Linked DNA regions of Homo sapiens: region 2 is linked to region 1. Evidence: promoter capture Hi-C in human tissues and cell types (Jung and others, 2019). All regions are on one chromosome and are shown on one strand. Each heading gives the region's core, a stretch centred on a gene start or on the middle of the fragment in contact. The rest is flanking DNA. Distances are from core to core; before and after follow the strand shown.

Evidence for each region. The method cuts DNA at HindIII sites, captures the fragments that hold promoters and counts their contacts. A contact is called where the count stands out against the background at its distance.
Region 2: a contact is called between a fragment that was not itself captured here and the fragment with the promoter of KANK4 in region 1, in 1 of the 25 tissues and cell types used here (H1 embryonic stem cells).

What each region holds. Positions count from the first base shown.
Region 1 is chr1:62,317,895-62,321,267 of GRCh38, forward strand. It overlaps KANK4 (KN motif and ankyrin repeat domains 4), which reads right to left and starts at 1,540. Exons shown (of 10, transcript NM_181712.5): 1 at 1,212-1,540. RefSeq lists enhancers at 133-857, 858-1,580. The HindIII fragment of the contact is 19,099 bases long and covers 1-3,373 here.
Region 2 is chr1:62,262,350-62,265,464 of GRCh38, forward strand. KANK4 (KN motif and ankyrin repeat domains 4) reads right to left here. Exons shown (of 10, transcript NM_181712.5): 7 at 743-962. Among named protein-coding and RNA genes, the nearest start is that of KANK4, 56 kb to the right of the region's middle. The HindIII fragment of the contact is 3,320 bases long and covers 192-3,115 here.

The sequences.
Region 1 (3,373 bases), core at 290-2,789:
ATTGAATCAGTCTGGTCTGATCCCCGAGCCATTCCCCAAAACTCACTTTCCCCAGGTCACATTATGGTCCAGTGAAGTGGGAAGGCTGGGCTTGAAAAGGCAGTATTAGAACGGACTCTGCCTCCATTCCCAGTGTAGCTTTCCTGTGTCACATTTTGAGAGGCTCTAAGCAACCTGGGCTTGATTTACCCAAGCAGGTCCTTGGGAATCGTGTTTAACTCAAGATGCTTTCTCCCCATGCCTCAGCCGGGTCACTGGCTGCATCTGATCCTCCTCTGGCCCTATTTGGTAGATAGGACTTTGCCCAGGCCTCAGGGGGTCCTCCTCCCTCTCCTGGAAAATACTCCCTCTTTGCCCTAAAGGCTTGCACTCCAGGGCGCTTAGGAACTAAGACTTGAGTTTGGCAGCCCCGAAGGATGCCCAGGGCAAGAGTTAGGTTCAGACCCAGCGTAGCGGCCATGGGCTCGACTTTCCAACTCCCATTTCTGGCCAGTCTGCGGGGTCAAAGTACCCAGTCACAGATTTGACCTTACCGGAGAGGCAGAAGGGAAAGGAGCCCACAGGAGGCATGCGGGCTGGGCAAAGCGCCCTCGGCGGCGTCTAGAGCACTCGGAGCTGCCCCATTGCCTCCGCCCAAGGTCGCGGCCCAAAGGGAGCCCTGGAAAGTTCAGCCAGGGGCCGAGGAGTGCCAGGGTTGGCACTACGGGGAGACTTTTGCGACAGGAGAGAGACTAAGAGCTCGATTCCAGGTAGCAGTGGGAGCCCGCGGCAAAGAACGCCCAGTCCCGCAGGCTGCATCCCAGACCGCAGCGCCTAGCTCGGAAAAGCTGGGCGGGGGCTGCACCACCTGAGTCGCAAGGACAGCACGGCCTCCCCCTCCTCACCAGTGTTCTCCACCCCCAGAATTGGGGCGCGGAGAGCCAATCTGGGCTGGAAAGGGAGCGGCGCCCACCTTTGGGCAGCCCGAGCAGCCCCGCTCCTTTTCTGTCGCAGACCCCAGGCTGGGAGGCGGGGGCGCCAGGTCGGCCCAAGCTGCCGCAGCCACTGCTTTAAAGGGAGCCGGGGACGCGGCGCTGGGGACTGGGCGAGGCGGGTGGCAGAGGCAAGAGGAGAGTGGTCGAGCGCCGGGGCCAACACTCGGGTCGCGCAGGGCGGGTGTTGAACACCCCAGCAGACGCACTGCGGGGGACTGGGGTCGCAGAGTCCCTTACCTTGGCGAGCTGCGGAAGTCCTGCGCGAGGCGGCCCGCGGTGCACGGGGCCGGGGCAGCTAGGCGCACACCCCGGCTTCGGAGCGCACGCAACCTCCGGGTGCACTGTCCGCGTCCCAGGCGCGCACCCCGGGGCTGGCGCACCCTGGTCGTCCGCGGCGCGCACACCCTCCAGGCGCCCTCTGGCCGACGGTCTCGGCCCTGGCCCCGGCGCACCCCTGCGGGCACACCCACCGCGGCGGATGCGGGACTGGCCAGGCGCCGCCAGCCGCGGCTTCGCCCCGCGTCGCCAGCTGCCAACAGCGCCCGAGTCCCCGCCTTCGCTAGGGGAGAAAAAAAAGACTCCTGACGCGGCGCGGACTTTGGTGTGTAGGAAGGGGCAGAATTGCGAAACCGAGGGGAGGGTCTTAGCCTCGATAAACTCAAAAGCCCTTGATAAACATGAGCTTAGAAGAAAAACTTTTTGAAAAGAGACCAAAAACTCCTAACCTGTTCATAGCGCTTTTCAGATTCCCAAAGTGCTTTCGTATGCGTTTATCTCGGTTCATCTAGACATTTCCATCCTCATTTGATAGGTGCAGAAACAGCACCAGACAAGGTAATGACTTGCCCCAGCCAGGACTGGAACCTAGGTCTGGCCACTGGGAAGCTGGGTGCAGTAAGTTAGGTCCTCGCCAGCGGATGTGGGCCAGTGAGGGCTGGGGTCCTAGTAACAGAACTTTTACCTCTCCTAAATCGTCTTTTTCCATCTCCTTTTTTTCTTCCCAATCCTTGCTGTAGTCCCACTCAGGAACCCTAAGTCTTTCATTTCACACTCCGACCTCCCACCAAAGGTTTGTTGTTGTTGTTGCTGTTTGAGACGGAATCTCGCTCTATGGCCAAGCTGGAGAGCAGTGGCGCGATCCCGACTCACTGGAACTTCCGCCTCCCTGGTTCAAGCGATTCTCCTGCCTCAGCCTCCCGAGTAGCTGGGACTACAGGCGCACACCACCACGCCCAGCTAACTTTTGTATTTTTAGTAGAGACGGGGTTTCACCATGTTGGCCAGGCGGGTCTCGAACGTCAGGTGATCCGCCCACCTCGGCCTCCCAAAGTGCTGGGATTACATGCATGAGCCACGGCGCCCGGCCCACCAGAGTTTTTTATCAGTTCAAAATGTTTGCGTTTCAACCGCTAACCTTGAATGAACAGTTCACTAAGTGCCTGGTGGGCGTTGTGCACCCTAACCCTAGGAAAAAGGAGCTGCTGCTACTCCTCCTTTACAGATGAAGACAACAGAGATAGGCAAGTAGAGGGCCGTGGACCCCGTAAGACTCCGGATGCCAGCTCTGACCCCCACAATGGGCATCCTTCATGGGCCCATTGGCAAGGGCTAACACTTAGGCAAAGGGGTTTCGTTTTTGACATTGTGACCCAGATGGGGGAGTACTTTCTAGGACTTTCATTTTACGTTTTTATAGAAATATGGTTATTTGAACGATTTCACTTCCACTAGAGCTCCACTGGAGCAAATCAATATCCCAGAGCAATAATAAATGGCAGCAGAGACTTGGTCCCAGTGTTGGGACATAGTAGGGAGTGGTGGGGACTGTGGTGAGCTTGATAGCAGCTCCAGGTTCTTGCCCAAGGGAAGGGGCTGCTGCTACTCAGCTCAGTCTATTTTGTCATCTAGGGAAAGGGATTCATGTGGCCAGATCCTCCCATTTTGAAAAAGAAGCCATCAGCCGGACACGGTGGCTCACGCCAGTAATCCCAGCACTGTGGGAGGCCAAGGTGGGTGGATCAGCTGAGGTCAGGAGTTTGAGACAAGCCTGGCCAACATGTGAAACCATCTGTACTAAAAATACAAAATTAGCAAGGTGTGGTGGTGCGTGCCTGTAATCCCAGCTACTCAGGAGGCTGAGGCAGGAGAATCACTTGAACCCAGGAGGCAGAGATTGCAGTGCACCGAGATCGCACCACTGCCCTCCAGCCTAAGTGACAGAGCAAGACTCCGTCTCAAAAAAAAAAAAAAAGCCATAAGTCAGATATTTAAGTGAAGGCCCCAAATTTGTTAGGAGCTCATTTGTATAATGCTAAACACTTTCTACATAGGTCAACACTGTTCAAGCCAAAGGAAATGGCTTTATGGATCAGATCCAGCCTACAGGCCAGGGGTTTGTG
Region 2 (3,115 bases), core at 602-3,101, 55 kb before region 1:
CAGGCAAAGTGGTCTAGTCCAGTTCCTGGAACACAGAGGGAACTTTCAACAGTGAAGCATTTCCTTGACAGAAAGAAATGTGGTATAAGAATTGCCCTTCAAGTCATTCCATCAAAAAGACACCTGCATTTATATGCTATCACAGCACAATTCACAATTGCAAAGACATGGAATCAACCTAAATGCCTGTCAACCAATGAGTGGATAAGGAAAATGTTATATATATAAAAAATAAATATATAACGTATACTCACATATACATATAATAAAATGTTATATATACGTATATGCACAGACACACATACATACATTCCACGGAATACTACTCAGCCAGAAAAAAGAACAAAACAATGTCTTTTGCAGCAACTTGGATGGAACTGGAGGCCATTATTCTAAGTGAAGTAACTCAAGAACGGAAAACCAAATACTGCATGTTCTCATTTAAATGGGAGCTAAGCCACAGGTACACGAAGACATACAGAGTGGCATAATGGACAATTATACCAGAGAGTCAGAAGAGGGGAGGGTGGAAGGCAGTGAGGAAAAGCTACCTATTGGGTACCATGTATGCTATTTGGGTGATGGGTATACTACAAGACCAGACTTCACCACTGTGCAATTCATCCATGTAACCAAAAACCACTTGTACCTTTAAAGCTATTGAAATTTTTGAAAAAAATTTTAAAAATTGCCCTGCTCTTCAAGGAGGGACCCAGACTGTATGAATGCAACCACTTCTGACCTGTCTCCAGCAGCAGCTTCACGATGGAGAAGTTGGAGTGGGACACGCTGTAGTGAAGGGCCGTGTTCCCGTTGTGATCGGCCAAGTTGACAAGCAGTTTCAGGAAGTGTGGGGAGTGAGGCTGGACCTCGTGGAGGTAGGAGGCCACCACGGCGGGGCTAGACGACTTCCGGCTGGAGACGCGGAACCACTCTTGACTGATGGTGTTCAAGCTTTGCCTCTGAAACCCCAAAAAAGACCAATTCCAAGAGGTTCCCCGGCCAGCAAGAGTTCCTCCCTTACACAAGGAAAGACAGCTTTGGCCTCTGTCCCTGCAGCTCCCTCCAGCTTGCCATGTGATTTATTCCTGAAGGGCTCAGAGCTGGTGGGGTTAGGAATGCAGCAACATACTTTGTACTTGTGCGATCAGCCCCCTCTGGGAGTGGAAAGGAAGACTGGGAGGACAGCCTAGTAACCAGTAACAAGGCACTTAACTGGAAAAAGTTTGAGTCTGCGGGAAGTTTAGCTCACACCCCCCAGTAAGAAGTTTAGCTCAAACCCCTGGTATGCGCACAATTACAAAGGCCCTCTCCTTCCCCCTCACACAGCCAGCCCACAATGACCTTTCCCCAGACTCTATCAGGACACCTGCGTGTGTTTAATAGGCATAGCTGGAAAATCGCAACATCTTACTAATGGGAAACATGCATGCGAAGGCAAACAACATCTCCAATTTATGCTTGAAATAAAACCCAAACAGGTGTGCTTGACATGTTTGGCTTTTAAGCTTTCCAAGGACCTTGAGAGTAAATGGTTTAAGAACCCACGGCAGGACCCTGCTATCTGCAGCATTCAGCTCCTCTGGGACCATGAACGAGAAGAGTTCCAGAGCCAATGACATCAACTCTTGTGTGTGACATGAGCTCAGTGTTTAAAGGGTATTTACCTAATGGGGAAGAGAAGCTATTGAGAAATGATTATGATAAATGATTGCATACTCATGCTGGGAAGAGTCCTAGACTTGGGAGTCACTGAATCGATGTGACACAGTTTAATCCCTGGCTCGGCCGGGCGCGGCAGCTCTCGCCTGTAATCCCAACACTTTGGGAGGCCGAGGCGGGTATATCACCTGAGGTTGGGAGTTCAAGACCAGCTTGACCAACATGGAGAAACCCTGTCTCTACTAAAAATACAAAATTAGCCGGGCAAGGTGGCTCAGGCCTGTAATCCCAGCTACTCAGGAGGCTGAGGCAGGAGAATCGCTTGAACCCGGGAGGTGGAGGTTGTGTGTGAGTGCACCATTGCACTCCAGCCTGGGCAACAAGAGCGAAACTCCGTCTCAAATTAAAAAATAAAAATAAATAAATAAATAAAATCACTGACTCAGCTGTGGGACCTTGGAAGTCATACAACCTTTTTGATCCTTACTTGTCCTGTTATAAAATAGGAGTAAAAGGGGACTGGCCCCTTACCTTCCATGGCTCTACAGAGTGAGGTCCTTACACACCTGCTTCTTCCTCTAAGATGGGGGCAAGGGAGACAGTATCCGGTGCTTTGATCCTAACATGGGTGTGGTGCCGGGCTTGCATATCCTCTGATCACTTTTCTAGAGCAGAATCAGTGGAATCTTTTGTGGCTGAAACACTTTAATAAATCAGAGTATCTCCTTTATCCATGGGATCTTCAAGAAAATCTGGAGAAAGATCCTAATATTAAGGAACAGAGGGGTGGATTTTGTTTTTTGTTTTTGTCCGTTTGTTTGGTTGGTTGGTTTCTTTTGAGACAGAGTCTCGCTCTGTGGCCCAGGCTGGAGTGCAGTTGTATGATCTCAGCTTGCTGTAACCTCCACCTCCTGGGTTCAAGCAATTCTCCTGCCTCAGCCTCCCAAGTAGCTGGGATTATAGGCGCGGGCCACCACACCCAGCTAATTTTCGTACTTTAGTAGAGACAGGGTTTTGCCATGTTGGCCAGCCTGGTCTTGAACTCCTGACCTCAGGTGATCCGTCCATCTCGGCCTTCCAAAGTGCTGGGATTACAGGCGTGAGCCACTGCGACCGGTCGAGTGGTGGATTTTGAATGAAGAGCTAAGAAAGACCTTAGTTCGATAATTCAATTAAGAATAAGTGACAGGAGTTTTGATCAACATCCACATCACATATTGGTTCTTTTTTTTTTTCTCTGTGTTTTTGTGACAGGATCTCACTCTAGTGCTAAGGCTGGAGTGCAGTGGTGCAATCACAGCTCACTGCAGCCTCAACCTCTGGGGCTCAGGCGATTCTCCCACCTCAGCCTCTGAGTAGCTGGGACTACAGGCGTGTGCCACCATGCCAGGCTAATTTTTTGTATTTTTTTGTAGAGACAGGGTTTTGCCATATTGCCCAGGCTGGTCTCAAA